2 separate regions of the Homo sapiens genome follow, and region 1 is linked to region 2. The links are contacts of gene promoters, found by promoter capture Hi-C in human tissues and cell types (Jung and others, 2019). All regions are on one chromosome and are shown on one strand. The core of a region is centred on a gene start or on the middle of the fragment in contact, and the rest is flanking DNA. Distances in the headings are between cores, read along the strand shown.

Region 1 (4,427 bases), core at 270-2,769, 830 kb before region 2:
CTAGGGTTGTTCACATCTCAGCCCTGTATACTCTCCCCTAGACTTCATCAGGAGCCCAGGAGAAGTGGAACAACAGCAAAAAGGGAGTGAAAGAGGAGACATGTCCCATTTAGTTATTACCTTTTATTCCACAGAGCAGTAATTTACTTGTGATTGGATGATATCAGTTACAAACTGTATCACCTAGGAAAATGTATATGTCAACAATATATGCAAAGGATAGAAAGGTATAACATGATGAGGGTGGAACATTCAGGAGAATGATTGAGTGGTGAGTATGCTACAAAAACTTTTCATTTATTCAAAACATCAGCTATTCAGTTATTCAAGACAACTATGACATGATCAGAAGTAAATAGTAAGGTACCCAAGAATCCAGACTTTATGATGCAAAACTCAGGTACAGAAGCTTATACTTTCAAAAAAAATCCCTCTCATTTATTTCCTCTCAATAAATTCTTCTCATTTATTTACTATTATGTTTAATGATTTATTCTTGCTTTGAGTACATTATTAATCATCTTGGTTATTTCAGTCCTTGTGCAAAATCAAGTTAAAAGTAAAAAATTAGAAAGTGATGGGGATAATACTGGATATAGCTATTAAAAAAATAGCTGATATCCAGACAATGAAGAAGAAGGTAGCAAACTAAAGATTCTATTTTTAAAGAAGCTGAAAAAAACTGGTAAACAACACAAAATATAGAAATATGACAAAGGCCCAACATCTAATATAACAATAATTATATTCATGATGATGCCCTGAGTCTTTAAGAAAAAGTTTAAAATGGTTGATATCCTACAAAATTTTTAAGAAAATGGGAGAGTATTAATTCATTTTGGAAAGATGATTGGCAGATTAGCTCAGATTAAAAATAGTTGCGAATGTGTAGAGGGATAAAATCTGAAAATTTCTCTTAGCAGGAACTTCTAATTGTCCAAAAATGGGAATCTTTTAGAAGAATCTTTAGGAGTGGAACTGTAGCATAATCAGAATCGCCTGGAAGACTCATTAAAATCATCTCATTTAATATTTACAATAATCCTGTGCTATTAACGTTCCCATATTTCATAGGGTAAGACTAGATTTCAGAGGGGTAACTAATCTGCCAAAGGTCACACATTAAAAACGGTTGATTCCATGGGTTGGGGGTGCACCGAGGATTTGCGTCTCTAAGTTTCTAGATGATGCTGATACTACCTGTCCACAGAAGGCACTTGGAAAGCCACTGCTCTAGAGGTTGACCAGGGAAAGTAGCAATAATTGCAAGAGAAGGACCAATAAGAAATGCAAGAACATGTAAGTGGGAGAGGCCAAATTCTCTTTTATGACATTCCCAAAGAACAAACACTCCCATGGGCTCCATGACTCTTTAACTAGGAGCAAACCTGGTATGCTGAATGCAGAACCTGCTACATGGATGCAAAGTATTTCTTTCCCTATTCAAGCTTTGGACACAGAATCTTTAGAGAAGCCCCAGTAAATCTAACTCCCCTCTTCAAGCTTCTCATTCAAGACTGTTTCTGGGAGAAAATGTCCCGGGCCTCAGTGGGATATCAAGATCCTTCTCCAGCATCAGGGGCATGTTGCATAATTCCTCAGGCGAGCACTGCCAGCCAATGTTGTCACAGGCACAGGCCCGCAGGAGCCTATAAAATCCTGATACACAAAATGTGTTGACATTAGTAATCTCATAAAGATGGATTTGCCGTTTGCTCAAAAGCTTTCCATAAAGACTGTTTGTCAAAGATAGGAAGTAAAAAGCAGATGCTGAAGGGCTCTTCTTCAAGGTCCTCTTGGGGGACAGGGTGTACACGGTCAGGGTCGGGGGACATGGCTCACCTTCCTCCTTCTTCCTCAGGTCCCTGAGCATAGATCATAGGCTTACCTGATCAGGCGGTGGGGCTAATCCTCAAACATCCTGATTTGTCTCCAGTACAGAGCCTTGGCTGAGGACTACAGACTAAGCAAATAGAAGTAGATGCTGTAAGAGCATTTACTGAATACTTACTGGATACCAGGCACAGCTGTAAGTGTTTTGCATGCATCATCTACTTTAATTTTTATGCCAATCCTGTGCTACTACCGTCCTTATGGGGAAGTAACTTGCCCAGCCTCACGTATTCTAATGCTGTGTGTTCAAACCCTGGCACCATCTTTCCTTCAATGCAGAACTCTTGGCACTCTTCTTTCCTCTCTGGCTATTCCTTCTCAGCTTCCTTTGCTGGATGCCTCTTATCTCCTTGATCTCTAAATCAAGGGTCAAAAAAAACAAAAACAAAAACAAAAACCCTGTCTCTAAACAGCCAGATGGTAGATTTTGTTGGCCTTTGGCAGGCCATGAGTCTTTGTCACAACTACTCAGCTCTCCTGTTGTAGCTCAACAACAGCCACAGACAATAGATAAAGAAATGCAGATGAATGGTTCCAATTAAACTTTATTTACAAAAAGACATGAAAATCTGGTCACTGTCTGACAATTCCTGCTCCAAGTAATAGGGCTCCCTAGCATTTGGGAAGAGAATCAATGCTTTGGCCCCCACTAGCTACACTCAATTTATCTACGCTTCCATCCAGTCTCAAGCCTCTAAATAGCATGTGTATGCTAATGATTCTCAAATCCATAATTCTAGCCTAGATTTTTGTCTAAACTCCAACCTTACTCATACCATCACCAATTTCATATCTCTACTAGAGTGTCTCCTAGACACGGAAATGCAAGTCCAAAGCTGAACCCCTAATATCCAACCCTTCCCCTAAAACTGCATCTCTCTCAGCCTTACCCATCTTAGCAAACAACAGCTCATCAGTCCAGGTGCTCAGGCCTTAATCACATGCTTGGTGTCACCCTGGCCCCTCCCTTCCTCTCATACCCCAGACCCAATTACCAACAACCCCATCAAGCATAGCTTCAAGATATGCCCAGAATGAGACCTCTTCCGCCACTAACTTCATGGCCAAGCCACCTGGATTATGACAATAGTCTCCTAACTAGTCTCCCTCCACCCTCCCTTGTCCCTAAATTTCTATCCACACTCCGCAGGAGTGATCAACTTTTAACAGTATAAATCAGAGCATATTCACTCTGCTTCAATTTGTCCATGGCTCCGTCTCACTCCCAAACCTTCCATTCTCTGGCCCCTTGGAAGCTCAGATATCATCTCTACTCTCAGCCTTCCTCCCTCTGTACTAGCCACACAGGCCCCTTCCTGTGCCTCCAACTCACCAAGCACATTCCCACCTCAGGTCCTTTGCACTGGCTGCCTGTGACCATCTGCCCTGATAGCCTTTTGGCTCAGGCTCTAATTTTCTCAGGTATGAGCTTGAATACTACTTCAACATTGAGGCCTTTCCTGAATGTCTACATAAATTAATCACCCCCCCCCCTTATCTCCCCTATTTCTTCTTATTTTTCTCCATAGCATTTATCACCACCTAATAATGTATGTATTTGTATATTTCCTTTTTGTCTCTTTTCCTCAAATAGGAAATCAACCCCATGAGAACTAGGGCTCTGTATGTTTGGCTCACTGCTGGAAATCCTGAAGCTAATGCTATGCCTGTTATGGAGTAGATATTGAACATTCTTTAAAATAAAGAAATAGACAAACCAAAAACAAGTATATAATACCATCATCTAGTTTAACTCTGCAACCACTCTTGCAAATTGAAAATGCAGAGGTACAGAGGTAGAGTGACTTGCTGAAAGTTACACAAATGATGGATGATTTGACGCTAGAACACGGCCTTTCTGATTGGAGGTTCTGTCAGCCTCTCACACAAGATGTAAAATTCATAAATTCCTCCAATAATTGTTTCTAAGGAGAAGGAGGTTATGTTACAAAGTTATTTTTGTATTTCAACAGATGACTCCCAAAGCAGTGCTTATCAATTTATCTCACCAGTGTCTGTCTACATCACAAAGAATGAGAGACCATGCCATTTGATCCTGGTGGAGACATGACAGAGCTGGAGGAGAGCTGTTTGGGAAAGAACTAGGGATGGTGTGTGTTTGATGACCAAATCCTTCCTGTAGGACAATGATGTTCAGCCTTTGGGACCATAGCCTTTTTAGAACAGCCAAATACTTGGAGGATCATCACAGGAAAATCCTTCCTCTAGAACAATGACGTTCAGCCTTTGGGACCATAGCCTTTTTAGAACAGCCAAATACTTGGAGGATCATCACAAGAAAAGAGTCGCATTTTAGATCCACTGACAGAAAATACTGATGACCAAAAGCTGATGTAAACTCAGTATGGCTCTTATATGAATTTCTGCTTGTTCAATCTCAACAATCTCTACAAATATCTGGAAAACAATCGCAGGCACACATACAGACAGATGGTCCACATACAGGAGATGTCATCCACTAATCTGAGAGGTGACATGGTTTAGTGATTAGGAGGTGGCTCTTTTTAACCATG
Region 2 (4,300 bases), core at 1,737-4,236:
AACTTGTCCTCCCTACCACCTCACAAGCTATATTACTTGTGGCTACATAGCCACACCTACTTAGGAATCAAATTAGGCCCTAGGTTCTCTGAGAACAATTCTACTCTCTATCCAGAATTCTAAGACTGGAGTGAATTGATTGCTTCTTGCAACCTGGCGCATTACTGATTCCAGCATGCACTGGGCTCTCTACATGAGCAGGCAGCTGCTAATTACCTATGATAATGAGGGATGGATAGGCACTGAAGATTCAGCATAGCTTAACACCAAACCCCCTCCCCAACAAAACCAAAGAAAGCACTAGGCCTTTGGGTATAATATTGTATCACGTTTGCAGTAGATTTGCTTTCTTAATTGTTTTGATAGGATTGCTATTAAAGTCAGTTTCTATTCTTTACACACCCCCAAAACAGCGAGGGACTATGACTGGTGGAAATGCCTTGCATGATGTGCCTCTGTGGAAAATGAGAGTGGATTGCAAAAGCTCTTCTCCACCCTGTTCTTTCAATCCTGCATCCCAGGTCTTGGTCTATGTCTTACTGATTTCCCATGTTAATTATTTTAACCTTGTCCTCAGTAGCCTCCTTTGTCTCTCATTGCCATAGAAACCCATTCTGCCTTAAGAATTGTCTTTCTTGCCTGTTCCTTTGACCCAGGCCCTCTACTTAAGTCCTCCTTCAGCTGCAAATCACCTGCTGAACTAAATCTAAGCTCCTTGATCTTGGCTTCCAGGACGTTCTATAATTTGCTTCTCTGTTTTTCTCCTTTTAGAAATAATACATTCCTGGAGCAGAGGTTGAAGTAGATCACTGTCAACCAAAATATTAACTGTAATAACTAACATATTTACATAGTACTTAAGAGTTAAGTAAAAACATATCCACCTACATTACCTCATTTAAGGCTCATACTCTGCTGTATTGTATATAATTATTTTACATTTATATAAATATAGGTAAAGCAGATAACATGATCAGCATTTTAAGTTCAATAAAACTGGGGCCCAAATAAATTAAATGACTTGCCCTATAAGAATTTATTGGTGCTGAAGCTACATCTTTTTTTTTTTTTTTTTTTTTTCTGAGACAGTTTCACTCTTGTTGCTCAGGCTAGAGTGCAACGACGCACGATCTCGGCTCACCACAACTTCCGCCTCCCGAGTTCAAGCGATTCTCCTGCCTCGGCCTCCCGAGTAGCTGGGATTACAGGCAAGCACCACCACGCCCGGCTAATTTTGTATTTTCAGTAGAGACGCAGTTTCTCCATGTTGGTCAGGCTGGTCTCAAACTCCCGACCTCAGGTGATCTGCCCGCCTCAGCCTCCCAAAGTGCTGGGATTAAAGGCACAAGCCACCACACCCAGCCAAAGCTACATCTTAAACTCTAATCTTCGGGCTCCCAGGCCATGCAGGTTATATTACACAATGTGATTAACAATCCTGTATTTACCAAAAGATTTTTTCTTTTTGTTTTTTTGGTTTACATGCTGTGGCAGGCAGAATTCTAGGATATCCCCCAAGATCTCCTCCTCACCCAACCCCCACAGTACCTGACCTACATAACCCCTGGGGCCATGACTATGAAGATTCTGATTCTGTTATGCGGTGTGGCAGAGTTGATTTTTTTTTTTTTTTTGAGACAGAATTTTACTTTGTCACCCACGCTGGAGTGCAATGGTGCAATCTCGGCTCACTGCAACCTCCACCTCCTGGGTTCAAGCGATTCTTGTACCTCAGCCTCCCAAGTAGCTGAGAAAACAAGAGCACATCACCACACCCAGCTATTCTTTTATATTATTTATTTATTTATTTATTTATTTATTTTTATTTTTTGAGACGCAGTCTCACTCTGTCGCCAGGCTGGAGTGCAGTGGCGTGATCTTGGCTCACTGCAACCTCCGTCTCCTGATTCACACGATTCTCCTGCCTCAGCCTCCCCAGTAGCTAGGACTACAGGAGCGCGCCACAACGCCCAGCTAATTTTTGTATTTTTAGTAGAGACAGGGTTTCACCATGTTGCCCAGGCTTTGTCGAACTCCTGAGCTCAGGCAATCCGCCCGCCCCGACCTCCCAAAGTGCTAGGATTACAAGTGTGAGCTACTGCGCCCGGCCAAGAGTTGATCTTAAAATAGGGAGATTATCCAGGTGCTCCTGATCTAATCACATGAGCCCTTTAAAAGCAGGGCATTTTTCTCCAACAGTGGCAGAAGAGGAGTCAGAAAGATGTGCCTCAGAAAGCAAATATCCATGTTGTGAACTACCAATAAATAGGGCTCATGTGGGAAGGACTCGAGAGTGACCCCTAGGAGCTGAGGGTGGCCACCACTAACAGCACAAAACAAAACAGGGAACTCGATCCCACAACCGCCAGGAACTGATTTTTGCCAACAAGAATGAGTTAGGAGATGGATTTTTCTCCAGAGCCTCCTATGAGATTTCAGCCTTGTCATACCCTGGGCAGAGAACCCAGACACTCGGTAAATTACCAAGGATTACGAAATATCTCCCCAAGAGAGTGTTTTGGCGGGTGAGAGGATATGGTTTAAAGAAAAGTTTTGAGTGTGAATGTTTTCAGAGAGTCCAAGGACTCTCCATTAGCTAGTCTCATTATTACCTGTCGTTTTAAACGCCCTATCACTCTTACTTAAAGTAGCTGTCCCCGGGAAGCTTTTGTATTTTGTACCCCTTCTCGGGGAACGGGACTGAGTAAGGAACGTAATAAAGCGGCCTAAAAGGCATCTCCCTGTATCTTTGATATTTTGCCTAGGGAACGCCCTATCATGTCGCATATAAGCGATCGAGTTATGCATTTGTTGCTAGCTGAAGAGATTATTCCTTGATAACCGCTTGGTCTGGTCAGAATACAAACGGTACTCCTGTTCAAAGAACTACAAATCCCAGAAGGCCTTTTCGGCCAGAGCGCCTGCGCATCGCGCACTCCTTCCTTTCCGCTCCTCATCATCTGGAAAGACCCGCCCAGCGGTGCTGTCGCTCGCGCTGGAAGAAGCGGAAGAAGATGGCGCTCACCAGGTGGGTTGTTGATTGGGGTCCTCGATACGGAAGGGTCTGGGAGTACCAGTCTTCTTCATTTCTCTTCCCATACCCTCCGGGCGGTGACCTGACCCGGGGCACAGAATGACGTGGGCCAAGACTACGGCTACGCCCTCCCGCTGGCCGCCGCTACGACTAGGCCTAGTCGAAGCTGGGGTCTTTCAGCGGTTTCCCGGGTTTAGTTCACCCGCTCACCGAGGCCGAAAGCTGCGGAGTGGTCTCAGACACTGAAGAGTGGGTTTTTCGCGTGAGCATCTTGCGGGGAGCGGACAGCGCTCCCTCAGGTCCGCGGCTCGGGCGAACGAGATGGGGTTGGTGACGGTAGTGGCTTATTTGGGCGGAGTGAAGCGCGCGGGCTGCGACTGCGCGGCTTTCCGGCCGTTTGCCTGTGGTGGTCTCTCTCCTTTCGCTGTCCACTGGGTGTCCCGAAACAAGGATTCCTGAAAAAAGAGGCCCGGAGCTGAACACAGATTTAAATGAGCCACAGTAGTGACCGCCGTCTGCTGATATGCGCCACTGCTCCGCATTTTAACTTTGGAGCTTAGAATTTCTTCCGTAGATAGAACCACCTCAGTTTTGCTGTTTCCGGTTACCTTAGTAACCGTCTGTAAAGTGCTCTCCGCCTTTAAGAAAAAGATGCTTTTCAGTGGGAGAGTCCGAGAAGTTACGCTACTCCTACTAGTTCCCAGCCTTGCTGCCCCATTTTAAGTGGAAAAACTTTCCATGCGAACTCAACAGGAAAAGGCTAGTGTTCAGGAAGGTTATAGATAAAGTAATCCTTTCAGGACATCAGCTTGAGCTCTTTTAACACCCTTCATTCTCCTCACGCATGTTTTTTTTTCTGGCTGATGACAGTATGACTCCAAAAGTTTTAATCAAAAAATTATTTTGGGAATTACTGTTGGTGCCTTGCTCTGTCCTGGGGGTTGTGTACACAGAAGAAAATCTGTCTTTGGCAACAGGGAAGATAGGGGTGCAAGGTATACAGACATAAAACAATTACAGAACACAAAATGTGCATTTGTGTAATACTAACCTTAGTGCAAAAAGAATTGAATGGAATAAGTTATGTGGGCTGGAGAGTTTTCTCCCCACCCTCGTTTCTAAAATTTTTTTGCTTTTTTTTTTAACTTTATTTTTTGAGATGCGGTCTCGCTGTGTTGGCCAGGTTGGTCTTGAATTCTTGGCCTCAAGCAGTCCTCCTGTCTCGGCCTCCGAAAGTGCTAGGATTACAGGCATGAGCCACCATGC

What was found. The method cuts DNA at HindIII sites, captures the fragments that hold promoters and counts their contacts. A contact is called where the count stands out against the background at its distance.
Region 1: a contact is called between a fragment that was not itself captured here and the fragment with the promoter of SNW1 in region 2, in 1 of the 25 tissues and cell types used here (dorsolateral prefrontal cortex).

Annotation. Positions count from the first base shown.
Region 1 is chr14:78,584,100-78,588,526 of GRCh38, reverse strand. The region is part of intron 4 of NRXN3 (neurexin 3); the gene reads right to left. Among named protein-coding and RNA genes, the nearest start is that of NRXN3-AS2, 120 kb to the left of the region's middle. The HindIII fragment of the contact is 3,510 bases long and covers 1-3,274 here.
Region 2 is chr14:77,759,842-77,764,141 of GRCh38, reverse strand. SNW1 (SNW domain containing 1) reads left to right here and starts at 2,986. Exons shown (of 14, transcript NM_012245.3): 1 at 2,986-3,028. The coding sequence starts at 3,015. It overlaps SLIRP-OT1 (SLIRP overlapping transcript 1), which reads right to left and starts at 3,374. Exons shown (of 2, transcript NR_161324.1): 1 at 3,026-3,374. RefSeq lists enhancers at 1,473-2,247, 2,795-3,114, 3,022-3,796. The HindIII fragment of the contact is 5,855 bases long and covers 375-4,300 here.